Regions from separate parts of the Homo sapiens genome. Here all the other regions are linked to region 1. Evidence: promoter capture Hi-C in human tissues and cell types (Jung and others, 2019). All regions are on one chromosome and are shown on one strand. The core of a region is centred on a gene start or on the middle of the fragment in contact, and the rest is flanking DNA. Distances in the headings are between cores, read along the strand shown. Region 1 holds the start of EPPK1 (epiplakin 1). Region 2 holds the start of RHPN1 (rhophilin Rho GTPase binding protein 1). Region 3 has its middle 9.7 kb from the start of MAFA-AS1. Region 4 holds the start of MAFA (MAF bZIP transcription factor A). Region 5 overlaps ZC3H3 (zinc finger CCCH-type containing 3). Region 6 overlaps ZC3H3 (zinc finger CCCH-type containing 3). Region 7 overlaps EEF1D (eukaryotic translation elongation factor 1 delta).

Region 1 (3,498 bases), core at 569-3,068:
GGGCAGGCACCCAAGTCTGCCCCCAGAGGTGTCCCCAGAGGTCACTGGGCTGGGGGCCACCACAGGGCAGGGGATCTGGAGTCACAGGAAGACAAAGCCGAGGGAGAGGAGCCAGGGGACAGATGCCAGTGGGTGCAGCAGAGCAGGGCCAGCTCCATGCCACCTGCCTATACCAGGGGGGTGACGGGCAGAAATGGGTGCAGCGGAGCAGGGCCAGCTCCGTGCCACCTGCCTATACTGGAGGGGTGACGGGCAGAAATGGGTGCAGCGGAGCAGGGCCAGCTCTGTGCCACCTGCCTATACCGGAGGGGTGAGGAGCAGACAGGCATGTGGCCCGTCCCTGGGCACACAAGAAGGCTTGGTCTGGCCAGCCTAACACCCCCTTCTTGCAGCGAGGGGCTGGCATACACCCAGGTTTTGTGGCCTGGCAGGGGCGCTGCCTGCAATGGCTCACCGCAGGAAGAAGTGGCTCTGGGGTGTGCTCCAGGCCACAGGCCATAGCCAGCACCACCATGCCTCCCAGCAAGACCACACAGACAGTGTCCAGGCATCCGGTGAGCAGGGCTGGGGATGGATGCGGTTGGCCTGGCAGTGCCTTGGGGAAATGCGGGTTCCACCAGAGCTCCTCTGGGGTCAGGGCCCCGCAGTCGGCAGCAGCCATGCTGTGCGGCCAGTGTGGCAGGTGTGGACAGGGTCCAGGCAGCCTGGGTGAGCAGGTGTGAGTGTGGACCTGGTGGGTGGGTGAGAGCAGAGCCAGGGCAGTGGTCCCAAGCACCCTAACCCCTGAAGGCCTAACCTGTCCCTCCTGCACCTGCGTGGGCGCCTGCAATTACCCTCATGGTGTGCATTGGAGGTGGCTGGCTGGCTCTGGATGATTTTCTGGTCAAGAATGACTCAGGCAGAGGTGGGGGCTGGAGCTTGGGAGAAGGGGGCACTTGTGGGGGTGGGGAGCACCTGAGCCCTCAGGACCTCCAGGACTACGGGACAGAGGAGGAGGGGCCTTGGGGACAGAGGAGGAGGGGCTTTGGGCCCTGTACTTCCGTGGCCCTGCCCACCTGGGATATCGGGGCAGCCAAGGGGAGGGCCCTCCAGAAGATCCATGGAAGGTTCCCGTGCCAGGCTGAGGCTGCCCCCAGGCCAGCCCCCGAGGCTGTGAGCCTCCATGCCCAGTGTCTCTGGCATGCCCCAGCCTTGGAAGGTGGGTGCCAGGATGGGCTTCAGAGAGGGGACCAGGTACTCCCAGGGTGACAGGGAACATTCTCTGTGCCCAGGTGGAGGAGCCAGACCGGGGGGTGAGGCCTGGCACTGCTCCAGGCAGGACATCCCAGCTCTTACAACGTCATGGGGGCAGGGGGGCCTGCCAAGGAGAGCCTTGAAGACCCCTGGACCCAGCAGACACACGACGTGAAGCAGCGTCCCCAGGAAGCTGAGCAGACAAGGTGGGGTCGGGGCTGGAGGCAGGGACACCAGCCCGCACCGCATTAGTGGCTTGTGGGGATAGAAACCGCCGCTCTGGCCGGTCCGCGTTTCACTCCAAACTCCTTTCCCAAAAAAAAAAAGCTGTTCTGAAGGGCACAGGACGCCTCCGCGCCCGCCCTGCGTTCCTTCGCGGTGACTCCCTGCTGGGGACGAGGGGAGGGTCCCGGCTGCCCAGCCGCCGCCCCTTGCCCGGGGTGCAAGCGCCAGGCCCGGGCCGCGCGGGGTTTCCGGCACCTGCCCGCCCCGCCCCGCCCCGCGTCGGGGCCCCGACCTGGGCGCCGCCCTAGACGGGGGCGGGGCCTGTGGGGCTTGAAATGCGGGCGGAGCGGGCGCGCGGAGACACTGCGGACCGAGCGGCGAGCGGGCAGGTGCGGCGGGTGCGGCGGGTGCGGCGGGTGCGGCGGGTGCGGGCAGGTGCGGCGGGTGCGGGCAGGTGCGGCGGGTGCGGGTGCGGGCTCGGGGCCGGGCGGGGCGGCGGCCGCCGAAGGAAACCGGATCCCCGCTGGAGCCGCACGCCGAGGCCAGGGTAGGGGCGCGGCGGCCAGCGGGGTCTTGGGCTCTGGCCGGGCAGGTTTCCCGCCCTGGGCAATTTGAGCTCCGAGTCCGAAGTGGCGCCCCTGAGTCCCGGGCGCCGGTGAAGAGGAGGCGCCGGCCCCGAGCCCTCACGGGAGAGGCGGCCAGGGGCGGGGGTCTCGCAGGCCCAGCGGTTTTCCCTGCAGCGAGGACCGCCCGGGGCACGCTCTGCAGGGTGGGGAACGCCCAGGCCAGGAGGCAGCTAGGCCGACAAATTGAGAGGGGTGACTCCTGGCAACATTGCCGGGAGGGAGGCGTCACGGATCCGGGGAAGCTGCCTGCTGTTGGGTGAGCGGTCCCAGGGGTGGCCACTCCGGGTCAGGTAAGCGGTCACACGGTCGCCTGGAGACCCGTGGGAGGCAGAGGCAGGAAGGGCCCTGTTCATCACTTGGGCCCAGGGCTCTGCTTCCCTGCCCTGGGCCCCCGCTGCACTGTGCCAAGCTTGTTATTGGGGCCACTGATCTCTGATCATGGTGCAGGTTGCAGGTGGGTGGGGTCTTCCCACAAGGGCACACAGCCGGGCAGAAGCTAAGGCTGCTGCCTCCTGTGTGGGCCCAGGCAGCTGCCAGGGTCTGTCCTGACCTGACTCAGGCAGGCGGCTGCAGCCTCCCCAACCTTTGTCCCAGGCTGCGGTGGGGGCCTGCCGGGCAGTCTGGTGACAGACAGTGACCTCACCCAAGAGATGCAGACCCACCCTCCTCAGGAACGGCCCTCCACCACTTGGGGCCTGGGGGCCACCTGAAGTGGGGAATCCACAGGAGGGGCCCTTTGTGCCTCAGGCTCCGGGGAAATCTGCTCGGCCTCCTCCCCACCCCATCACCCTAACCCTGACCCCGTGCTCTCCTAGGCAGCAGCCACCTCCTCCAGATGCCCCCACACTCGAAGCTGCACCCCCTGCCCCCCCTCGCTCCGGACCCTCTGTCCAGCTGCCCTCCCAGGCCCCACATGGAGTCAAGACACCCACTCCCGGGCCTTCCTCCTGCCAAGCCTGGGAAGGGGCAGGGCCCAGGGAAGGGGCAGGGCCCAGAGGGGTTCATACCAGGCCCAAGGTCAGGAAGAGATAGGGAGTGGTGCAGCCAGCCACAGGCCGCATCTCACGCATGGTGCGGGGCATGCACTGGCAGGCACACTCACACACGCAGGGCAAGCCTGCCCCCGACTCCCTGCTCCCAAGCGCCCTGTCTCCAGCCTTCCTCCCTGGATCTCCTCTTTGTTTGGGGAACTTGAGCCACTTGCCTGAGCTTACGAGGCCCGCTTAGCACGCGGCCTGTCTGGGCTGGCGGCCTGTGCGCAGGTCAGGGGCCCGCCCAAGGTGCTGTCCCCACCCTCACTGGCCCTGCCCCGCCCTCGCTGGCCCTGCCCCACCCTGGCCCGCACTGCCCCTCCCCCTTGCTGGGAAATCAGGTGCTCCTCTCATTTCCTCACCGCCATCCCTGGCCGGATGTC
Region 2 (3,498 bases), core at 254-2,753, 510 kb after region 1:
GCGCGTGTGACACAGGGCCTGCCTCCGCCCCACTGCCACCTCCCACGGGCCCCTCCCCAGTACCCTGACTGTGGGGTCATTTCTGGACGCTGTGAGAGACACGGCAGCCTGGAAACAGCTTCTCCCCAACTTTCCAAGGTGGCAGCCCAGGGAGGGCCAGGACAGGGAGCCCAGGCACAGCCCCCAGCCTGAAAAGCGTCACCTCCGGAGCCCTCTGGGACATCTTGTTTGTACAGCCTCCCAAACATTCCACCCAAAACAACATGTGCCGTCCCAGGCCACCTGCAGGCATGGCCGCCCTGACAGAGCAAGTTCATAGGGGGCAGGCACAGGCTGCCTCTTTCCCTCCAGTGCCCAGGAGGTGCTGCAGCCTCTGGCACGCCTCGGGGTGGGCAAGAAGGGCGTCCTTGAGGGCTACGGTCAGCATCACCAGCCCAGTGACCTGAAGCCAAACCCTGGCTGATAGCACCGCCTCCTCCTCTAGGAGACCTAACCCCAAACACCAAAGCCGAGTAGAACCAGCCCAGGGACAACACAGTCTGACGTCCCAGAGGGGAGGAGGGCCGCGCGCTATCAAAGGCTCACCCGGGGCGAGGAGCAGGAGCAGCCCGCGGCTGAAAGCCCGTGGCGGGCGTGGGCGCCCAGGGCCTGGCAGGAGGACTGGGGCAGCCTCGAGCTGGTCCGCAGGGAACAAGCAGGCTCTGGGCTGCAGAGCAAGGCCCACAGACGTCCCCTCCTTCCCAGGCACAGACTCAGCAGGTCTCCACAGCCCTGCCCACCCCTCCCACTTGCCCAGTCAGCACCCCGGGTTAGGGACTTCAGAAGGGAAGGAGGTTTGGGAAGTGAGAAGAGGCCAGCCGGGAAGACCTCTCTCGGTTTCCCATACCCAGGAGGCTTCGCTGCCCGCTGCTACCAGTGCACCCAATGGGCATGCAGTTCCTGAGCGGATGCAGAGGGAGGACCGAACTAGGGAAGGAGGCTGTACAGGTGCCGGAAAGGAACACGATGGCGGGTGTGGGGAGGGCGCTCACAGAGCCCAGCCCCACATCCGCCCAGAAGGGGGACACGAGGAGGGCGTCCCCCCAACCCGCTTCAGCGGTGAGGATGATCCAGACTTTGGCTGTCCGCATTTCCCGGCTCACATGAGTGGCCTGGAAGCACCTCCACCGAGCTCAGAGGAGGAGGGACGCAGGCTCTGGCCTCAGTTTCCCTGCCTGCGTCCGGGCCGAATGAGACGTAGGAGGGGGGCGCCCGGAACGCGCCTCGAGGGGGGGCAGGAAAAGGCCGGGATTCCGGGCCCCTCCTCCCGCCGCCGCGCCAGTTCTGCGCACCTGCAGCCGCGGGCTCTCCTCGCCGGCGCCCGCGCCGTCCGGCCTCTCCTCCAGGATCATCGCCGCACCCGCTGCGCTGGGGGTCCCTCGGGGTCAGCCAGCCCGCCGCTCGCGCAGCGCTCCGCAGCCGGGCTAGGGCCGCCCGCACCACCTGGGCCGCGGGCTCCTGAGTGCCCGCGCCGGTCCCCGACTGTCCCTCCTGAGTGGGGGCGGCCCGCGGCGCGGCTGGGCGGGGCACGGGTCTGGCGTGCGAAGCTGGCCATTGCCCAATAGGCGGCAATGCCGCTTCGACGGACAGCTATATCAGCCAACCAGAGTTCCAGGAAGGCGGGCTCTGGACGGCCAGCTCCGCCCGCCCGCGGGACGGTAACCCCTGGCAACCGCGGCCGGAACGCCCGCGGCTGGCTGGCAGGTTGTACTGCGCATGCGCCGCGGCGGCCGCTGAGCGTGCGGGAGAAGTTCGGGAAACGGAGAAAAAAACTATACGGAACGTCCCAAGCTGAGAGTCAGGGCGGACCTGGACTCGGCGCGCCTAGCTCCTCGGCTCCCTTTGCGGGGACTCCAGGAGTCTGCCCGCTCGCGCCGTTTCGTCCTGTCACCCCGGCAACGGGACCCTCTAAGAGGCTTGTTCCAAAAATGTTCACAATGGGGTTTTTAAAAACGGTTTTGTTAGGGACAAGTGCTTGTGTGAGTCCTCCGACAATGCCTGCTTTCTTCTCTCTGCCCGCGGAGCGGAGGCTCCAGGCCTGGCCCCAGTCCGAGGCGCCTCTGTCGGTGTCGTCCTGCTTCCAAAACCGGCCTCCAGAACCCGCCTCCTTCCAGAACCTCCGTCCAGAACCCGCCTCCCTCCAGAACCTCCGTACAGAACCCACATCCTTCTAGCACCTGCCTCTGGAACCCACGTGCTTTCAGAACTACCTGTTTGTAGAACTTGTTTCCAGAACGAACCTGCTTTCCGAATCTCTTTACTTCCAGAGCTTGTTTCCTGGACTGACCTATTTTCAGAACCTACTTTCAAAACCAGCTTGCCTCCAGGACCACCTGCTTGGAGAACTGGCCTGCAGCCCCAGGACTGGACGACCTGAGACTGCACAGCTCCCTGCGGGGCTCACCCGGCTGTGTGTGTCCTTCCGGGCCTTCCATACTTCCCTAGGTGTCTGGTGACTCCGGAGCCCGCTCGGATTTCGTGTGGGTCTCGCCTCAGCTCAGAACACACCCTTTGAAGAGCAGGAAGGCCAGGGCACAGGCGGTAACCACGGCTCCTGGTCATCAAGTTCCTCTGAAGCCCAGGTCTTGTCCACGTTCACTGCCCCACCACAGGCCCAGCGGAGCCTTGGAGCTGAGCCCTGGGATCATTCTGGTGCCTGTGCTCCCGGCTCCGCAACAAGCACACAGGAGCCTGTCATCCCCAGATCTAAATCCTGAAGGCTAAGCTCCGTGGTCTGCCGCAGCCATCTGCAGCAGGCCCCTCCCAGCAACAGCCTTCTCATAAGGCCCCTGCCAGCCACGCGAAACCTCCTGGCTAGGGCCTGTCTTCCACTCCTGGCCTTTTGAGACAGGGCCTCACTCTGTTCCCCAGGCCGGAGTGCAGTGGTACGATCACAGCTCACTGCAGCCTCCACCTCCTGGGCTCATGTGATCCTCCCACCTCAGCCTCCTGAATAGCTGGGACTACAGGCTTGCACCACCACACCCGGCTAATTTTTGTATATTTTGTAGAGACAGGGTTTCGCCACATTGCCCAGGCCCAGGCTGGTCTCAAACTTCTGGGCTCAAGCAATTCATCTGCCTCAACCTCCCAAAAGTGCTGGATTACAGGGATGAGCCACCATACCCGGCTTTTTTTTTTCTTTCTCCTGGCCTTTTGGGGCCCTTGAAGTGTCTGCTCCCTGGGAGCCCTTCAGCTTGTCGTCCACTTGGTGGGTTCCCACCCGTCCTTCTCACTTCTGCCTGAATCACACAGGCTACATGAGACCTTCACCCACCCCCTTCGCCAGCAGCTCTGTGGTTCAAGTTTCCTCAAGGTTAGGGGCTCCTGGCCATCTTACCTGTGGGCCTGAGCATGGGCCGATGCTTCCAAAGTTCACACTGGGTGCACTTGTGTGGGGACTTCCATGTGAGTCATCTCCTTGCAGGCTGCCAAGGTCCTGTACAGCAGAGACCCAAA
Region 3 (3,498 bases), core at 404-2,903, 480 kb after region 1:
CTGCCTCCCCCATCAGACTGGCAGCCCGAGCCGGCCGTTAGCAGGTGCTCAGTGGGGTGTGGCCCGGGGTCCCCAGGGGCCTCTCTTCTAGGGCTTGTACCCTCCCCCTGCCTGGGCCCAACCCTCAGCCTGTGTCAGTGCCCCCCTGGCTGTGGGGGTGAGTGTGGGCCCTTGAGCCCAGCAACGGGGTGATGCAGGGGTGAACCCCACTGCCCACCCCTTTCCTGCTCCAGAAGCCTCTCCGGGAGATCCCAGCCCCCAGCAGACTGCAGGCCCAAGGTCAGCGGTCTGCGTATTGACAGCGGCCGACTGCCCCGGCTGGCAGGGGAGGGTGAAGGCTGCACGCGGCTCGACGCGGCCCATCTTGTGAGACAATAAATTTGGCCATTGACCCAGCAAGCAGACGTCGATAAATGAATGGTTAATATAAACATTGTCCTTCCCAAATTAATCCGGGCCTCAGGGGTGGGGGCACAGGGCAAGTGGGAAGTTGAAGTACAGAGGAAACAGGGCAAGGACAGTGATGTGTGGGTGGCCAGCCTGTCCCAGCCTCCCGGGACACACCCCTGCCAAGGCGAGGTCTTTCTCTCCTCTGGGGGCTCCTGGGCAGGTGTTTGCCCAGTGCCAGGAGGGCAGCCAGGTTTAGCAAACAAAAATCCAGGGTGCGGAGTTACATTTAGATTTCTGATTAAAAAAACAACAAAACCATTTTAGTCTAAGTATATCCCATGCACTGTTTGGGATATACTTATACTTAAAAAAAAATTCATTGCTTGTCTAAAATTCACAAGTACCTGGGTGTACTGAATTTTATCTGGACACCCTGTGTGAAAGGCAGGAGGGGAGTCTGGTGGCCCCAGAGCTTGGCTGGGTCCATACTGCCTCAGCCCTGCCCAGCTCCAGTGCCCCTGACACCCCCAACCCTCACGGAGCCACAGCCAGCAGGATCACAGGGGGGCAGCCTGGAGCCAGGGCTCAATAGAGGTGGTGACATCAGACTGATGTCATCATTGTGTCCTGCGCTGTGTCCTGGCACGCCTCCAGTGACGCTCACCTCTGTGGCCTCTGCTTCCCCACCGAGGGAGGAGGTGGGTTCGGGAGGGGAGTGTGCAATTGAGGACTGCCTCCCGGAGGAGTAGTGGGCATTGGCTATGGCCCAGGGGTACGCCCTTGCCCCTCTGCGGTGGGGCTTGCATATCTCTGGGGTGCAGGCCAGGGCCCGCACCTCCCATCAAGAACCCTATAAATAAATAAGCTGGTCATATAAATAAACCACAGCCTGCCAGGCAGTCCTGACCCCAGGGCAGCTGCAGTGCCGGGCCAGGCTATCTCTTGCACCCAAGGCCTGCCCACACCCTCTGGGAAGAGTGAAGAAACTGCCAGACCCTCCCCACAGGCCCAGAGGAGGCTCCTAGAAGCCCTGGGCTCCCAGTACCCACAGCTGGGCCTGGGTGCTGAACCAAGGGGAACCCCGGGGAGCTGCTGGCTCCCTCCCCCACACCTGGCACCCAGTCCCACAAGGCCGGTGGCTGGACCCTGTCTGGGCTGCCTGGAGCCTAGCTGGCCTCCCACGAACCCTCCCGCCCAGGTGATAGGCAGCTGAGGCCCAAAGCCCCAGCTGAATGAGCTTGGTTGGGGTGGGAGAGCTAACAAATCAGCTCCAGGCTCCCCCAGCCCAAGCAGGAGTCCCCGGGTTCTGGTGCCCCCAGGGTTGGACTGTGATGGTGCTGGGACTGCCTTGCGCTGCCCTATTGGCCAGGGAGCCGCCTCCTCCCACACTTCCTCCCTGCTGTCCTTCTCGGAAGACGCCTGCCCCCACCCCGGAGTCTGGGTTGGGGGAGGCCACCCTCAGAGGCCTCCAGCCCAGACCAAGGAGGAAGAGGAAGACCCCAGGGTCCAAGATGGATGGGCCCCTGGGGCCTTGGCCCCGCCCCAGCCAGGCAGATGGGGAAGCAACTGTCAGCACCTAATGGGCCCTGTGACGAATAGGGCGGGGGTGCTGGCGGAGCTTCCGAATATCCCTGCAGAGTCCCCAAGGGCAGGGCAGTTCCGGCCCAGCATGGAACGATCAACACCGGGGTCTGGGGACCCGCAGGGCTCTGTCCCCTGCCCCTGAGTTCTTGGGTGGGTTCTGGGGGTCCTGGCAGGGAAGAGGCGGCAGTGGGAGATATCTGAGGTGGTCCCGGGCTGCCCCACGCCCCTCCCAGGCTCACCGAGGGGATGCTGAGCTCAGCGCTGGCTGGCTGAGGGCTTTAGGGACCATTAAAAATGCTCTCTGCCGGCCGCTGTGAGCTGTCCATTTGCTGCTGGCCTGTAGTTACTGCGGCCCCACCCCCACACATCCGCCCTCAAACCCTCACCCTCAGGGCCTCTCTGGCTTCCGCCACCCTTCCTGGGTGAGGGGCCCCTCCACCTGCCCAGCCAGAAGGATGCCCGCCCCTCGCCAGAGCCCCTTGGGGAGACCCCATGCTGAGCGAAGGTGGTGGGCACAGGACACATGCTGTGACCCCAGTGACCTAAGGCTCTGAGGCTCCGATTCACAGGGTGGGGACGGGGGCTGGGGAGGCGAGTGTTTCACGGGAACAGAGTCAGTTTGGGAAGATGGAAGATTCTGGAGGCACGAGGATGTGGGCGCGCTTCACACCACTCAGGTGCACCCTCAGAGATGGCTGAAATCGTAACACATTTTACCGTAATCACAATTTTAAGTAATCAAGCCGTCCTGTGGGGTCCTCTATGGAGGCCCAGCTCTGAGTGGGACACTGGGCTTGGGAGGTGACCGTTTCAGGACAGCCTGTCCTGGGGCTCACGAGGCCAGCCTAACCCTCCTGCCAGGGTCGGGGTGACTGAGGGAACCAGGGGACATATGGGTAGGTGGGCCCCTTCCATCACTGCCCCCTAGGAGGAACAGTGACAGTCCAGGAGGGGACAGTGGGAGGGTAGAGCACCCAAGGTTTGAGCAGAAGGGCATGGGCGGGGCCCTGCCGCCCAGCACCCTGTGGGAGTCCCTGGAGGGCAGGCCTGGCCCAGGCCAGACCCAGGAGGGCTCTGGGAAGAGCAGGGCTGGAGGCAGGCGCCACATACAGTCAGGGTCCAGCTCCTGGAACAGAGGAGTCAATGCTGGGGGTGCGGGGAGGGAGTTCCCTCGATGGCAGTGGAATCTGGGACCCTCAGGCCACTGGAGCTTCCCAGCCTGGCAGGCAGCCACTGCAGGCCTTCGCTGTCTGCGCCCGCCCTGCACTCCGCACCCTCGCTGGGTTGGCGTCCGGGACAGGGCAGGCCGGAGTGGGAGCACCCCCATGCGTGGGGCTCTGGTGTTGGCGGGAGGTCCTCAGGCCTGGGACCCTATCTTGGCAGTGGGATTTGGGGCTCAACAGAAGGAGCAATTCTGCCTCAGTCCAGTCACTGAGGGGCCTTAACTCCCTCCCTGGAGCCCCAGCAGGCGGCTTTGGGCTTCCCTGTCACACAGAGGCTGGGGATGCTGACCTGGCAGCGGGC
Region 4 (3,498 bases), core at 665-3,164, 450 kb after region 1:
GGTCTCCTTGGCCTGGCAGGAGCCACAGTGCGATGGGCGGGAGGGGGGGACAGTGGGGACACAGCCCGGTGCAAACACTCTCTCTTTCCTCCTCAACCCCCTTTCCAGTGTGCCCCAGGGCCTCCAGGGTGTGGTACCCAGAAATGCTGCTAGACCCTTGGAGGGGCCGTGGGAGGGCCCTGTAGCCCCAAGGCCTCTCCTGGGGCTGCAGGTGCAGACAACCTGGACTACCACCAGCTCCACTGCGCGGCGGCATCCTCCCTTCCCGGGCCTCCCTCTCAACACGGGGTGCCATAAAGGAAACCCCACACCCCTGGCTGGCTGACCACTCGTGTGGTCTCAAGTCCAGGTACCCAGTGTGGGGACTTGGCTCTGCTGCATGCCCACTTCATTTCTTCATCTGTAGAAGGGTGGGGAGCTCAGAGCCCCCTCTGGGACAGGATCGGGGGAGAGGGGTCCCTGCAGGTGGGTCCTCATGCTGTCCTTGGCCCTCCCTTGCGGGGAGGAAGGCCTGGTCTTCCCAAATCAGCAGTCCCAGCTCTGCCCAGAGGAGTGGGAGGGCCCAGGGAAGGGCCAGGGACACCCCGAGACACCTTAGGAAGCAGATGTTCAGTCCTCACTTCATGACAGTCTTCTTGTTACAAAACAATAGATCTTTGTAGAGGGAAGGAGGTGAGAGCCTGGTACTAAATCTGCGGCGCCGTGACCAGGCCTCCCTGTGGCCTCTGCGCAACTCCTTCCAGGCTTTTTTTCTCTACACAGGTGGTTACATTTTAGACTTTTTTTTTTTTTTTTTAAATTGCTGAAGTCATAGAACAGCAATGGAGAGAATTTCGAGAAGAAACAATAGGCCCACTTCGGGTCACCGGCCTTGTAACTCCTGGCGCAACCCTCCCATCACCCGGCTCGCTGGTGTCGGGGACCTGGGGTCACAGGCCCACCGCCCATCGTCACCTCCTTTGCCCCGTGAACCGGAGCCGTCTCCTCCCAGCAGGTGCACGGCCGCCAGGTGGAAATCCCCGCCTTCCCGTCTCAGTTACCCCCCGTCCCACTCCAGGCCCAGCAAGGCGCCTCCAGCCCTGCGGGGGGCGAAAGTGGGCAGTGGTGGCCGCTTGGGCGGGGATTCCTAACGCCCTGAGGGGCTGCCAGCCCGTGGGCCCCGCCCCCGCCGCTCGCACCCACCCGCGTTGTCCCGCGACCCCCACAGTCCTGCGCTCTCCGCGGCCCCCCACAAGCCGGCCCTCCGTCCCCGGCCCCTCGCGCCGCCCCGCACGCGTGTGTCCCCCTCCGCCCGCCCCGTGCTTCCCGGTGCCCGGAGGTGCCGGCAACTTTGTTGACCAAATTCCTGAACGCGTCTGAGCCGCGGGCTAAAAATAACCGGCTCAGCGCGCCGCGCTCTGCCGGGCCGCGCGGTGTCACCCGTGTCCAGAGGCCCGGAGGTCCCGCTGCCGCCGCCGCCGCCGCTAGCGGAGCTGCCCCCGGCCCCCAGGCCCGGCCGCAAACCCAGGGGGCCGAGGGGGCGTCCCGCCGCGTGGCCCGAGGCGGACGAGGCCCCGAGGGGGTCCCCGGGCGCGGTCCCCGTCTGCTTCCCCGGACTCTCCGGCCGCCGGGTGTGGGAGCTGAGGCCCCTGGAGACGGCAGTTGTCCCCTGAGGCGGCGCGCCCTCTGCCCGTGCAGTGCCCCGTGATGGCCACCAGAGGGCCCTGCCCTCTCCTCTAGCCGGCGGCCCGTCCCTACCTCTTCCCACAGCTGTTTCCCGCAGGAGATTGACAGCTGGGCTCTGAGTTGCCATGGGGATAAGCAAATGAGGGCGGCGGGGCTGGGGCTCCGATTGGCCCGGGGGCGCGCGCCCCTCCCGGGGAGGCGGGCCCAGGCACCCGGCTCTATAAAGGGGCGCGCGCGGCTTCGCGTTTAGCCGTGGGAGGCGGGGCCGGCCGGCGGCGCGGGTGGGGCGCGGGAGCGGTCCCGGAGCAGCCCGAGGCGGCGGCCGCGGGGAGGAGGCGGCGACGCGGGCCCGGGGTCGCCCGAGACACCTGGCCAGCGGTGCCCCTAGCGCGCCGCCCCGGAGTTGACCACGTGAAACTTTTCCCTGCGCCCCTCGGCGCCGCCGCCCCGCGCCGGCGCCCCCCCGCCCCCGCCGGGACCGCCGCCCGCGGGGAGCAGGGGGGGGAGAGGCCTGCAGCTCCCCCCCCACTCCCACGCCGCCCGTCGGGGCGCGGCCGGGCGCGGGCCCCGGGCGATGGCCGCGGAGCTGGCGATGGGCGCCGAGCTGCCCAGCAGCCCGCTGGCCATCGAGTACGTCAACGACTTCGACCTGATGAAGTTCGAGGTGAAGAAGGAGCCTCCCGAGGCCGAGCGCTTCTGCCACCGCCTGCCGCCAGGCTCGCTGTCCTCGACGCCGCTCAGCACGCCCTGCTCCTCCGTGCCCTCCTCGCCCAGCTTCTGCGCGCCCAGCCCGGGCACCGGCGGCGGCGGCGGCGCGGGGGGCGGCGGCGGCTCGTCTCAGGCCGGGGGCGCCCCCGGGCCGCCGAGCGGGGGCCCCGGCGCCGTCGGGGGCACCTCGGGGAAGCCGGCGCTGGAGGATCTGTACTGGATGAGCGGCTACCAGCATCACCTCAACCCCGAGGCGCTCAACCTGACGCCCGAGGACGCGGTGGAGGCGCTCATCGGCAGCGGCCACCACGGCGCGCACCACGGCGCGCACCACCCGGCGGCCGCCGCAGCCTACGAGGCTTTCCGCGGCCCGGGCTTCGCGGGCGGCGGCGGAGCGGACGACATGGGCGCCGGCCACCACCACGGCGCGCACCACGCCGCCCACCATCACCACGCCGCCCACCACCACCACCACCACCACCACCACCATGGCGGCGCGGGACACGGCGGTGGCGCGGGCCACCACGTGCGCCTGGAGGAGCGCTTCTCCGACGACCAGCTGGTGTCCATGTCGGTGCGCGAGCTGAACCGGCAGCTCCGCGGCTTCAGCAAGGAGGAGGTCATCCGGCTCAAGCAGAAGCGGCGCACGCTCAAGAACCGCGGCTACGCGCAGTCCTGCCGCTTCAAGCGGGTGCAGCAGCGGCACATTCTGGAGAGCGAGAAGTGCCAACTCCAGAGCCAGGTGGAGCAGCTGAAGCTGGAGGTGGGGCGCCTGGCCAAAGAGCGGGACCTGTACAAGGAGAAATACGAGAAGCTGGCGGGCCGGGGCGGCCCCGGGAGCGCGGGCGGGGCCGGTTTCCCGCGGGAGCCTTCGCCGCCGCAGGCCGGTCCCGGCGGGGCCAAGGGCACGGCCGACTTCTTCCTGTAGGCGCCGGACCCCGAGCCCGCGCCGCCGTCGCCGGGGACAAGTTCGCGCAGGCCTCTCGGGGCCTCGGCTCGGACTCCGCGGTACAGGACGTGGACACCAGGCCCGGCCCGGCCGTGCTGGCCCCGGTGCCAAGTCTGCGGGCGCGGGGCTGGAGGCCCCTTCGCTCCCGGTCCCCGTTCGCGCGCGTCGGCCCGGGT
Region 5 (3,498 bases), core at 589-3,088, 370 kb after region 1:
TGCACCAGGGCCCACTCTCGTGCCTGCTATTTCTGGAGGCCCTGGTGCTCCCATCTCTGTAGCCCACTGTGCATAAGGCCCAGGGGCTGGTGGATGCTGGCCTGGGGCACGGTCAGAGGCCTTCTGGGTCTCCACCTCAGTTGATGGGCGAGACCCTCCCTGATGGACCCTCCCATCAGCAGGCTGGGAGCTGGACAGATAGCTGGACAGCTCCCCAGGATACTCACCTTGGCCCTGGTGGGCTGGACAGTGAAGTGGTGGAGCAGCCTTCTCTCCTGCTTGGCAGCCTCAGACAGTTCTTTGCACAGAGTAGTAATTCTAGTTTCATCTTCTTATTCATTAACCAATTGTGAAATTAGCAACTTATTTTCTTCCTAGTTATTTCCCTTTGAAGTTCCATAAAAATCTGAACTCTCCCTCACTCCTGCTCCACATAAAACAGAGCAAGGCTGCGACCCCCATCTGATCAGACCAGCCATCTGTGTTGGAATTGTCCGAGGAGAGTGAGCCGGGTGGGCAGGGCCAGGCTCTGCAGGACTCCTGGACCCCTGATGGCCGGGCCCAGCCTCAGCGGCCGCCCTCCTGATGATGCGTCATTGGGCATGTGGTGCTTGGTACACAGCAGGGCTCTCGAGGTGCCTGAGGGCTGTCCCACCTGGTCCCCGGCCTGAGGGCATGGTGCCGTGTGCAAGAGCTCAAACCCTGCTGATGGATGGGCTCATATCTCATTCACATATGATGCCAGCAGTTTCTTTGTAGTTTGTCTTCCATTGCGGTAGTAAAGTTTTTAATTAGGAAAGCTAATGAGATCGATTAGTCATTAGAAGTGACCTCTTGATGGCGGGCAGAGAGGGCTGCGTGTGTGGGGCTGATAACGCGGGCCGGGGCATCGCCGGCAATAAAGGCGCAAGGGGTTTGATGTGCGCGGAGTGTGCCACGGGAATGCATCACGTGGAGAAAAAAAATTACAGCCCTGGGAGTCTGTAATGAGGGGAATTAAACCAACATCCTATCTAAATAACACGATTATCTACACAAACCCCAGCCAGCCAGGAGGGATGGGCGCCTGGGCCTGTGTCCTCAGGGAGGAGGGCAGAGGCCTGTTTCTGCCTGGGTCCTTCTTGGCTACAGAGCAGCGTCCTGCAGCCTCCCAAGCCTTGCCACCTGCCCACGCCATCGCTGCACACCCTGGGGAACAGGGCCAGGGAGGGACCCTTCCTTCCTGCAGCCTGACTTTCTGGGTCCGTGTGCCATGCATGGTCTTAGGAGCCCTTGCTCCTGCCAGTCGCTGGGTGCCCAGCTCAGAATTCATCTGCTACTACCCATCTGTCCGGCTGTGCCCTGCTCATCCTGGGTTGTCATGAGCTTGTCCGAGCTGCCCATCTGGGAATGACAGGGACTGCCCATGGTCTGCAGGGCCAGGCCGTGGGGGACACGACCCTGCTGTGGGGGTGGGTTGCAGGCTGGAGCCCAGCTTGGGCCCACACTAGCTGCCACCTTGTCACTGTGAGCCCCTTGAAGTGCCCCCAGTCTGGTAGGGACTGTAGGAGAGGGGTCTATCTAGGTGACGTGCAGAATATACCTGCCCAGCCTGAGTGGGCTGTGACAAGAGGCTGGCGCTGCGTTATTACCGTGTGGTTTTCAGGAGTGACACTTGGGCACTAAGAAGTAACACGCAGTAAGGCAAAGAAGCCTGACCTGACCACTGCCAGCACTGCGCAGGAGTGTGATCATGGTGCCGCCGCCCGCCAGGCCCTGCCTGCCCCAAGCTGCCCCTCCTGGGCAGAAGTGTTCTAGAATGCAGAGTCCAGTCCTGTGTGCAGTCGGGGCTGGGAATTCCTAGAGGACTTGGCATGTGCTGGACCTGGGAGGGAGGGCGAGCTCTGGTTCCCAAGGTTAGAAGTGATTTTAGCCGAAGGGAGGCTGTGCATTTGGCGACGGGAATGGAGCTGGGCCAGGTCTGGGGGCTCCTGTACTTAGAATTTGGGGAAAGAGGTTGATGGGGAGGGGAACATGAACCCCCGGGGCCCGAGGGTGGCCCAGTGTCCCGAGTGTGGCCCAGTGTCCCTCCTGCCTTGCTTGGCCCCACCTGGCCTCTGAGCAGGACTGTACCCTAGCTTTGTCATGCTGTGGCTCCAAGGGGCCAGCATCGCCCCAGGCTCTGCGTCCCAGAGCAGCAGGCATTGGGCGGCCTGGGAGGCTTGTGGGAAGCCATGGTGGGAAGCAGGCTGCAGGCTGGCAAGTGGGCCATTTGGGCACTCTGGGGTTGGGGGTGGGCTGGTGGCAGCCCTGAGGCCCGGCCCCATGGCTGGCAGTGCTCCAGTGGGTGCCCTGACTGCCCAGGTGCCAAGGCTGGCCCCCAGCTTGGCCCAGGTGGGGCAGGAGCAGCCGGGCAGCCCATGCTCTCCTCAGGCAGAAGCAAGGAGCCTGCAGCAGGGCTGGAAGGTGGTGAGGTCACCTCGGGGTTATTGATAACTTAAGGACTTCTTACGTTCTCCAGCGCTTAGTTGAAACAAGCTATTATTGATTTTTTTGCTGGTTTCTCCTTGTTTGTAAGACCTTGAAAATACAATCGGCAGACTCTCTGATGTGGACTCTGGGGGACTCTGGGGAAGGCTTTGATGTCATGTTGGGGCCAAGTGTTCCTGACTTGCTCCTGTGCAGGCTGACAGGTGCCTGAGTAGAGGCTGCAGCTTGGATGGTGCTGGGGGAACGCCTGAGGGAGGGGCTCTTTGCTGACATCTGGACAGGGCAGTGTGGGCAGGAGAGTGAGCGAGTCTGTGGAGAGATGGGCTAGAAGCTCGGCCTCAAGGAGGGGCCCTGGCTGCTCAAGGTCCGTTGCGTTTAGGGCTCTGGAAAAGAATTTGGGAAATGGTAACAGTTACTGGTCCTGTCCAAGGAGCAGGGTGCCTCGAGGGCTGTTTGGCTGTGGGGGCCAAGAGGGTGTGTCCTGGGCAGTCAGGGGTCCCGGGCACAGGGGAAGCTGGGCACTGACTGGAAGGAAGTGAGGTCCCCTGGGCTGGGCTGGGTGGGGTCCTCCTGTGGGCGACCCTGAAGGGGGTGGAGGGGGGCGGGGGCCTCTTGCAGCAGCCCCTGAGCCTTGGGCTGCCAGGGAAGCTGTTGGGAAGGCGGGCCTGTGCCCACTGCTGAGTTAGCTTTAATGATCTGGGCAGTCAGAGCTGTACATGATGCAAGCTGGGCAATTAGACGCAACCCTCGAAGCTGTGGGTAAATTGCCAGCTATCAAGTGGAAGGGAACTCGGGCAAAAGATTCCTGTTAATTGCATGAAACATTCAGCAAGAAAAAAGCCGTCGTGTCTATCACCCTGCAAAATGTTATGAAAACAGTGACTAAGTACATAAGTCTGTCTGGGCACAGCGGTGAGGAGGTGCCGCTTGAGGAGGTGAGTGCTCCAGCGCCCCTCCCCTGTGCAGGGCACAGGCCAGGAGCCTCCCAGCCCCGCCCCTCTGGCCTGGGTGGAGGTGGCCCATCTGCCT
Region 6 (3,498 bases), core at 599-3,098, 350 kb after region 1:
ATTGCATTCCAGTCTGGGCGACAGAACGAGACTCTGTCTCAAAAAAAAAAGAAACCCAGCCAAGCGTACCGTCATCTAGGGAGGCTTCAGACGGCTCTGGAAGGAGCTGGGCCTGGGCAGACCCAAGAGCCGTGTGGGGGCTGCCGCGGGAGGGCAGGGCGTTGGGTCCCAGGTGGAGGGCTGAATGGGGCGATGCAGCCGGGTGTTGCAGCACAGTGGGGTGGGAGGAAGTGGGGCTGGGGGCGCTGGTCGGCTGTACCCCGTTAGCCGACACCTGCTGCACGCCAGGACATGTGGATTTCATCCTGGTGACAGGGAGCAAGCAGAGACCCATGCGGTCCCTGGTGGCCACAGTGAGGTGGCCGGATGGTGGTTAGGTCGTGGGCTTATCTGGGAGTGGATGGTAGGGGTGGCTTGGACAGTTGGCGGTATCCCCTGGTCACTTGGGGAGGAGGGGTTGGGGAGGTGTCCAGCTCTGGGAGGCCAGCAGGGTCTGCTGAGCCCTAGGAGGCCAAGGCTTGCAGATGGCGTGGTGGTTGGGGTGAGAGGCTCCCCACTGGGTGCAGGTTCAGCCCTGCTCACCTGGCCTGCTCCCTCTTCAGGCCTCTAGTAGAGTGGGGCATAGGCAGGGGATGGGGGAGGTTGCTTCCTGCTGGTGGGGCCTTGCTCGGCGCCCCCCGGACTCCTGCCAGGAAGAGTGGGTTTGGGAGGCCACCAGCTTCACCGGCTGACCATTTCGGAGTGCACAGCTGAGGGGCTGCTGCGGTCCTGCCTCACTAGAGGGAAGGGCGTAATTGATCTCGTCGTTTTTTTTTTTTTTTTTAATGTTTTTAGAAACAGGGCCCTGCTTCCCTCCCAGGCCAGAGTACAGTGGTGCAGTCACAGCTCATTGCAGCCTCAACCTCCTGGGCTCAAGTGACCCTGCTGAATAGCTGGGACTACAGGTGCATGTCACTGTGCCTGGCTAATTTTTAATTTTTTTGTAGGGACAGGGTCTTGCTTTGTTGCCTAGGCTGGTCTTGAACTTCTGGGCTCAAGTGATCCTCCTGCCTTAGTCTCTTAAAGTGCTGGGATTACAGGTGTGAGCCACTGTGCCCAGCCAAACTCATAGTTAAAGACCAACGTGAGGCTGGGCGTGGTGGCTCATGCCTGTAATCCCAGCACACTGGGAGGCCGAGGCGGGTGGATCACCTGAGGTCAGGAGTTCAAGACCAGCCTTGGCAACATGGCAAAACCCCGTCTCTACTAAAAATACAAAAATTAGCTGGGTGTGGTGGCGAGCGTCTGTAATCCCATCTACTCGGGAGGCTGAGGCAGGAGAATCACTTGAACCCAGGAGGCAGAGGTTAGATCGTGCCATTGTACTCCAGCCTGGGCGACAGAGTGACATTTTGTCTCAAAAAAAAAAAAAAAAAAAGACCAGCGTGGCGGCTGCATGGAGTGAGAGGAGAGGGTCCTGTCTGAGGAAGGGGTGGGGAAGGCGTCCCACTCACTTGCCCACCACTGGCCCAACTGGCAAGCGTGGTTGAGTCACTGTGCCTGGCAGCCTGCCGGCTCCTGGGGATACTGCAGTGAAGGTGAAGAGATGATGAGGCTGGAGCCGCCTTCCAGTGGTGGAGACAGGCAGCCACTGGAGTGCTTGTACATCAGCCAGGAAGGTGCTCCTGGGTGGAAAATGCCTTCTGAGGAACAGGCAGGGGGAGAGCACAGGGCCAGCTGCAGAGAGGTGGTTGGCGAGTGGGAGGGCTTCTCTGAGGAGGTGACCTGAGCAGAGAGGAGCGAATAGGGCTCAGCTCTGAGGCCGAGGTGGAGGTGGGAACGAGCTTACTGTGTTCTGGAGCACAAGGAGGCTGTGGGGCCAGTTCACCATCTGGGAGTGTGGCTTGGAGGGGATGCAGCCAACGGGGCAGAGGGACCAGGTCCTGGGAAAGGGTCTTGTAGGCCACAGGAGGGAACGGGGGGTTGGTTCTGGTTACGTTGGGAAGCCAGGGAGGGACAGGGGAGGACCCTGGGAGGGGCGTGTCCAGGGCCCCGGGGTGTCTGGCAGGCCCGAGTGGGCAGAGTCGGGAGGACCTGTGCGTGAGGCCACTGACGCCAGGCCAAGGAGCGGAGTCCGCAGGCTCTCAAGCAGGCAGGGAGCCCGTGGAGATGTGCGCGGAGGTGAGAGGCCGAGCCTGCGTCCTGGCCTGGTCACTCAGGCGGCTGACCCCAGAGACAGCCACCGTGAGACTCCAAGCTGGCCGCAGGGGAGGTGGGCGTGGCCAGGGCGTCTGCTGAGGAGATGGGAGGCTGGGGCCCAGGAAGCTGTTGAGTGGCTCCCCCAGGTGCCCTCCTGCAAGGCCCACCGTCTCCATGCCTGCCTGCCTGCCTAGGAACTGAGGCCTGCCTGTCCTCTGCCTTGGCCAGTGGGCTTCTGGGCAGGGCCCAGCTTTGTTTCGTTGAACGCTGCAGTGCTCTGGTGAGCCAGTGAGCCCTTCCCAGGCCCTCCTTCAGCCCTCCCGGGTGGCCAAGGCCTCCATCGGCTGGGGTGTTCGTTCCTGGATGCTGGGGTCGTGTGGGCTGTGGATGGGGCAGCCAGGTGGGACTGCTCCTTCATTTGGCTGTTGGGAGTTTTCTTTCCCCATTTTCTGCCCAGCAAAAGCTTAGTTCCAGCTCCACCTCTCCTCTTCAAGGAGACGGCAGTGTCCCAGTGTCCAGCTGGGGACGACTGCCCTGTGGACTTATGCACCAGGGACAGGGGCTTCTGAAAGCTGCCAGGCAGCCCTGCTGCCGCCTCCCTCCCCCGCCGCACTTCAGCCTTGCCGTGCGGCCCAGTGGCCAGCAGAGGGCATGCTTGCCCCTCCTATCGCCTCCGTCCACCCTTTTTTGGTAATCGCGTAATTTCCTTTTTATGTGAAAGAAAGCAGATACCAAGTAATTTGCAGCAATAACCTGCTAATGCTGGGCCAGTATCGAAACTCCCCTGTTCATTTCAAGTGGCAGATAAAACGCTAATACATAATTATCCTTGCAAATTGGATTATTTTAAATAACCAAAAGGCTACGGCCAGGAGAAAGCGATCCCATCTCCCCTGAGTTACTATTGCAGCGTAATTGCCGCGTTCAATCAATTTCCCTGGCATTAGAAATTCCGTCACAATCAACATTAAGCTTTATTCATTGTGATGGCTAAGAGCCGGGCCATTTCTCCTCTTTTTCTTAACTGGCAAAATTAATCAGGGAAAAGATTTTAAACATTTACCCGTGCGAAAGAGGTCAGCCCTGCCACTATATTGCTCAGCAGATAAGGGGGCTAATAAAAAGAAAATTGAATTACTAATGATCACCAAGAACAGAGTATATAAAACCTGGCCATCGCCAGTTCAGGAAAAGGGAGAATCAATTTTCTTGGGACAAGGTGCGTTCATTTTTTATTTTGGCGCATATTATCAGCAATTTAATTTGAGAGGCATAAACAGGAGGAAACAGTTAGGGAATAATGAGCCTGGAGGTGTAAAG
Region 7 (3,498 bases), core at 634-3,133, 290 kb after region 1:
TGAGCAGGGGAGCCTAGGGAGCGTCTTCATGGGCCCTGTGGCCTCCCATGGGCCCCGGTTCCTCGTTGGTGCCATTAGAACTTGTTGCTGGGACTGCGGGATTCGGGCCACATGCCCGCAAAGAACTCCATGTTCCACTTAGAGGCTGCAGAGTGCAGTGCCAGGGGTGCCTTCCCAAAAGTCCTCCCTGCCTGGGTGGAGCGTAGACAGCTCAGCACCCCACGGGGGGCGTTGGAGCCAGCCTTGGTTTTGTTGGGTAAGGATGTTAGAAGAGGGGCGAAGACCCATAGCCACTGGTGTGAAGGGTCTGCTCTTGACCGAAGGCTGCCTCCCTCTGGGTGCAGACCAGGCAGGTGGTCCCAGTCACGGTGCCCTGGGGCCACTGGGTCTGTCTGCCCTCAGGCTCCACTAGACACACCTGCGGAGGCAGCAGACTAGCAGCGGTGTCTGTGAGGGGCAGCTGCACAGCCCCCTCTTGAGGGTGCTCCTAGGCGTTGGTTAGGCCCAGGCGTTTCTGCTTTTGGGGAGCAGAGCCTGGAGTCGGGCATGGCTGGGGAGGAAGCTATCGCAGGCTGAGCGCGGGCTGGGGTGCTGACCTGCATCCCAAGAGCAGATTTGCCCCTGGCCTTCTGGGCCTGTCCTTTCTGTAACACCACACTGGACACCTGGGAGCAGAGCGTGCCCCCGGCAGGATCCCACATGGCTGCTGGAGCACTGGGGCAGCAGGTGACTGAGGTCGCCCAGAGCTTGAGGGAACACCTCATCCAGGGAGGAGGCTGAGGCTCCCAGGCCACAGTAGCAAGTGGGGAGTGGAGCCTCACAACCTGCCTCCCACCAAGATGGTCCCTCTTAACATTACACAGAAGCAAAACCTTAGAGGGGGCCCTGATGTCCTGGGACTGTGAGAGCCCCATGATTCCCCTTTAGCTTGGATGGACCCAAAGGTATGGACTCCAGCTGGGAGGCGGGGGCAGCTGATAGAGAGCCTAGAGCCGTCTCAGTGCTCCAGGCGCTTGGCCCCTCCTTTCTACACAGTGGTCACCAGCATCCTCCCTGGCGTCTCCTTCATGAGTGGGCACTCCACCCTCTGCCCGGCCACCTGGCCCCCTCCTGGGGAGGACAGTCAGGCCCACAAAGAAGCTCCCTCTTTTTTTTTCTTTTCCCCTGCTCTGTTGTCCAGGCTGGAGTGCAGTGGCGCCATCTCGGTTCACTGCAAGCTCCGCCTCCCGGCTTCACGCCATTCTCCTGCCTCAGCCTCCCTAGGAGCTGGGACTACAGGCGCCTGCCACCACGCCCGGCTAATTTTTATTTTTATTTTTAGTAGAGACAGGGTTTCAACGTGTTAGCCAGGATGGTCTCAGTCTCCAGACCCTGTGATCCGCCCGCCTCGGCCTCCCAAAGTGTTGGGATTACAGGTGTGAGCCACCGTGCCTGGCCGAGGCTCCTTCTTTTGTAAGAACTTTGAGGGTGCTCTGGGTGTGGCAGTGGTGTGGCCAGGACAGCCACAGAGACCGTTCTGTAGAATGGGAACACCAGCCACCATGGTGGGGTGGCCAGGCCTGGCCTGTGGAAAAATGCAGGGAAAGCTAGTTAGCCAGTTAAAGCTTATTTCAGATAAATGACGAAAAATTTTTAGTGTAAGTATGTCTCAGATACTTCATGGGCCATACATTCACTAACAAAATTATATATTGTTCATGTATTGGGAGGCACTTGGCCTCCCAGAGTACTGAGATTACAGGCATGAGCCACTGCGCCCGGCCTGTTTTCTCTTCACAACAAAACGTCCCCACATGGGCTTGACTTCGAAGTCCTCGAATGTCATCTCATGGAAGCCCCACTGGGGAGCATCCTCAGCCCCTGCCCAGGGAGGGCAGCCACGGGGAGGGCGGGCACGGGGAGGGTGGGCACGGGGCTGCGGCCACCCGCTGTGTTGCAACTCTGCCCTCTGCTTGCTTTTTATCGCTGTGTCCGGAAGATGAGGAGCGGGAAGGCCTCCTGCACCCTGGAGACCGTGTGGGAAGACAAGCACAAGTATGAGGAGGCCGAGCGGCGCTTCTACGAACACGAGGCCACACAGGCGGCCGCCTCCGCCCAGCAGCTGCCAGCCGAGGGGCCAGCCATGAATGGGCCCGGCCAGGACGACCCTGAGGACGCTGATGAGGCGGAAGCCCCTGACGGCGGCAGCAGGCGTGATCCCAGGAAGAGCCAGGACAGCAGGAAGCCCCTGCAGAAAAAGAGGAAGCGCTCCCCCAAGAGCGGGCTCGGCCCCGCGGACCTGGCCCTCCTGGGCCTCTCGGCCGAACGCGTGTGGCTGGACAAGTCACTTTTCGACCAGGCAGAGAGCTCCTACCGCCAGAAGCTGGCAGATGTGGCTGCCCAGGCAGCCTGGCCTCCTGCCTTGGCCCCTTGGGGTCTCTGCACCCATGGAAACCAGGTGGCCTGCCACCACGTGACCTGGGGGATCTGGGTCAACAAGTCCTCCTTCGACCAGGCTGAGCGGGCCTTCGTGGAGTGGTCTCAGGCCCTGTTGCTGGCCCCCGACGGCAGCCGCAGGCAGGGGACTCCCAACACAGGCCAGCAGGTGGCCGTCCCCGACCTGGCCCACCAGCCCAGCCCACCGGTCAATGGCCAGCCCCCGCTGGGCAGCCTGCAGGCACTGGTTCGGGAGGTGTGGCTGGAGAAGCCCCGGTATGATGCAGCCGAGAGGGGCTTCTACGAGGCCCTGTTTGACGGCCATCCCCCAGGGAAGGTGCGCCTGCAAGAGCGAGCCGGCCTGGCCGAGGGTGCCCGGCGGGGCCGCAGAGACCGGCGGGGCCGCAACATCTTAGGGAACAAGCGGGCCGGGCTGCGACGGGCCGATGGGGAGGCCCCCTCTGCCTTGCCCTACTGTTACTTCCTGCAGAAGGATGCAGAGGCCCCCTGGCTCAGCAAGCCTGCCTACGACAGCGCCGAGTGCCGCCACCACGCTGCCGAGGCCCTGCGGGTGGCCTGGTGCCTCGAAGCTGCCTCCCTGTCTCACCGACCCGGTCCTCGGTCTGGCCTGTCCGTGTCCAGCCTGAGACCCAAGTAGGAGAAACGTGCTGGGTGGGCACCCAGCCTGGGCTGTGGGCACAGGGACAGCCATCCCAGGCTGGGGCTCCTCCAGCTTCCTCCCCTGCCCACCTGGGGTGGGGGCTCCCCGAGACCCGTGGGCCCAGCAGAGTTGAATGCAGGAGCAGGCTGAGTAAAGGTGGTGCTGCGCTTGTGGGTTCCAGGGACACTGCTTGAGGTTACAAAGTTCCAGGCTGCCTGGATGAGGGCAGGGAAGGGCTCAGCACAGGGCAGAATCTCTGCCTTGCCCAGGGTCCCTCTTTGGCTGGGAAGCTCCCCAAGTCCCCTGTGGCTGTCACATGCCAGGGCTGAGAAGATAAGGCTACTTATAGGGGCGGGAAGCATTGAAGCTGGTTTCTGGCCCTAGCGCTCCCCTGCGATGAGATGTGGGAGCCAGTGTGTCCC

What was found. The method cuts DNA at HindIII sites, captures the fragments that hold promoters and counts their contacts. A contact is called where the count stands out against the background at its distance.
Region 2: the fragment with the promoter of RHPN1 here is called in contact with the fragment with the promoter of EPPK1 in region 1 in 2 of the 25 tissues and cell types used here (mesendoderm cells and spleen).
Region 3: a fragment that was not itself captured here is called in contact with the fragment with the promoter of EPPK1 in region 1 in 2 of the 25 tissues and cell types used here (lymphoblastoid cells and spleen).
Region 4: a contact is called between the fragment with the promoter of MAFA here and the fragment with the promoter of EPPK1 in region 1, in 2 of the 25 tissues and cell types used here (dorsolateral prefrontal cortex and lymphoblastoid cells).
Region 5: a fragment that was not itself captured here is called in contact with the fragment with the promoter of EPPK1 in region 1 in 7 of the 25 tissues and cell types used here (H1 embryonic stem cells, heart left ventricle, lymphoblastoid cells and 4 more).
Region 6: a contact is called between a fragment that was not itself captured here and the fragment with the promoter of EPPK1 in region 1, in 2 of the 25 tissues and cell types used here (lymphoblastoid cells and spleen).
Region 7: a fragment that was not itself captured here is called in contact with the fragment with the promoter of EPPK1 in region 1 in 2 of the 25 tissues and cell types used here (adrenal gland and lymphoblastoid cells).

Annotation. Positions count from the first base shown.
Region 1 is chr8:143,876,787-143,880,284 of GRCh38, reverse strand. It overlaps EPPK1 (epiplakin 1), which reads left to right and starts at 1,818. Exons shown (of 2, transcript NM_031308.4): 1 at 1,818-1,847. RefSeq lists an enhancer at 466-1,108 and a silencer at 1,675-1,764. The HindIII fragment of the contact is 27,880 bases long and covers 1-3,498 here.
Region 2 is chr8:143,366,881-143,370,378 of GRCh38, reverse strand. It overlaps RHPN1 (rhophilin Rho GTPase binding protein 1), which reads right to left and starts at 1,503. Exons shown (of 15, transcript NM_052924.3): 1 at 1,332-1,503. The coding sequence starts at 1,391. It overlaps RHPN1-AS1 (RHPN1 antisense RNA 1), which reads left to right and starts at 1,744. Exons shown (of 1, transcript NR_026785.1): 1 at 1,744-3,498. RefSeq lists enhancers at 1-341, 342-1,249, 1,990-2,545 and silencers at 1,037-1,086, 1,287-1,746, 1,757-1,826. The HindIII fragment of the contact is 34,419 bases long and covers 1-3,498 here.
Region 3 is chr8:143,396,723-143,400,220 of GRCh38, reverse strand. No RefSeq gene overlaps it. Among named protein-coding and RNA genes, the nearest start is that of MAFA-AS1, 9.7 kb to the left of the region's middle. The HindIII fragment of the contact is 5,490 bases long and covers 1-3,498 here.
Region 4 is chr8:143,429,148-143,432,645 of GRCh38, reverse strand. It overlaps MAFA (MAF bZIP transcription factor A), which reads left to right and starts at 1,914. Exons shown (of 1, transcript NM_201589.4): 1 at 1,914-3,498. The coding sequence starts at 2,240. The coding sequence ends at 3,301. RefSeq lists a silencer at 1,558-1,997. The HindIII fragment of the contact is 28,870 bases long and covers 1-3,498 here.
Region 5 is chr8:143,508,296-143,511,793 of GRCh38, reverse strand. The region is part of intron 3 of ZC3H3 (zinc finger CCCH-type containing 3); the gene reads left to right. Among named protein-coding and RNA genes, the nearest start is that of SNORD149, 3.8 kb to the right of the region's middle. The HindIII fragment of the contact is 8,123 bases long and covers 1-3,498 here.
Region 6 is chr8:143,531,605-143,535,102 of GRCh38, reverse strand. The region is part of intron 3 of ZC3H3 (zinc finger CCCH-type containing 3); the gene reads left to right. Among named protein-coding and RNA genes, the nearest start is that of ZC3H3, 8.1 kb to the left of the region's middle. The HindIII fragment of the contact is 6,167 bases long and covers 1-3,498 here.
Region 7 is chr8:143,588,562-143,592,059 of GRCh38, reverse strand. EEF1D (eukaryotic translation elongation factor 1 delta) reads left to right here. Exons shown (of 10, transcript NM_001130053.5): 3 at 1,979-3,069. The coding sequence starts at 1,979. Among named protein-coding and RNA genes, the nearest start is that of EEF1D, 7.1 kb to the left of the region's middle. RefSeq lists enhancers at 1,972-2,471, 2,472-2,973. The HindIII fragment of the contact is 8,109 bases long and covers 1-3,498 here.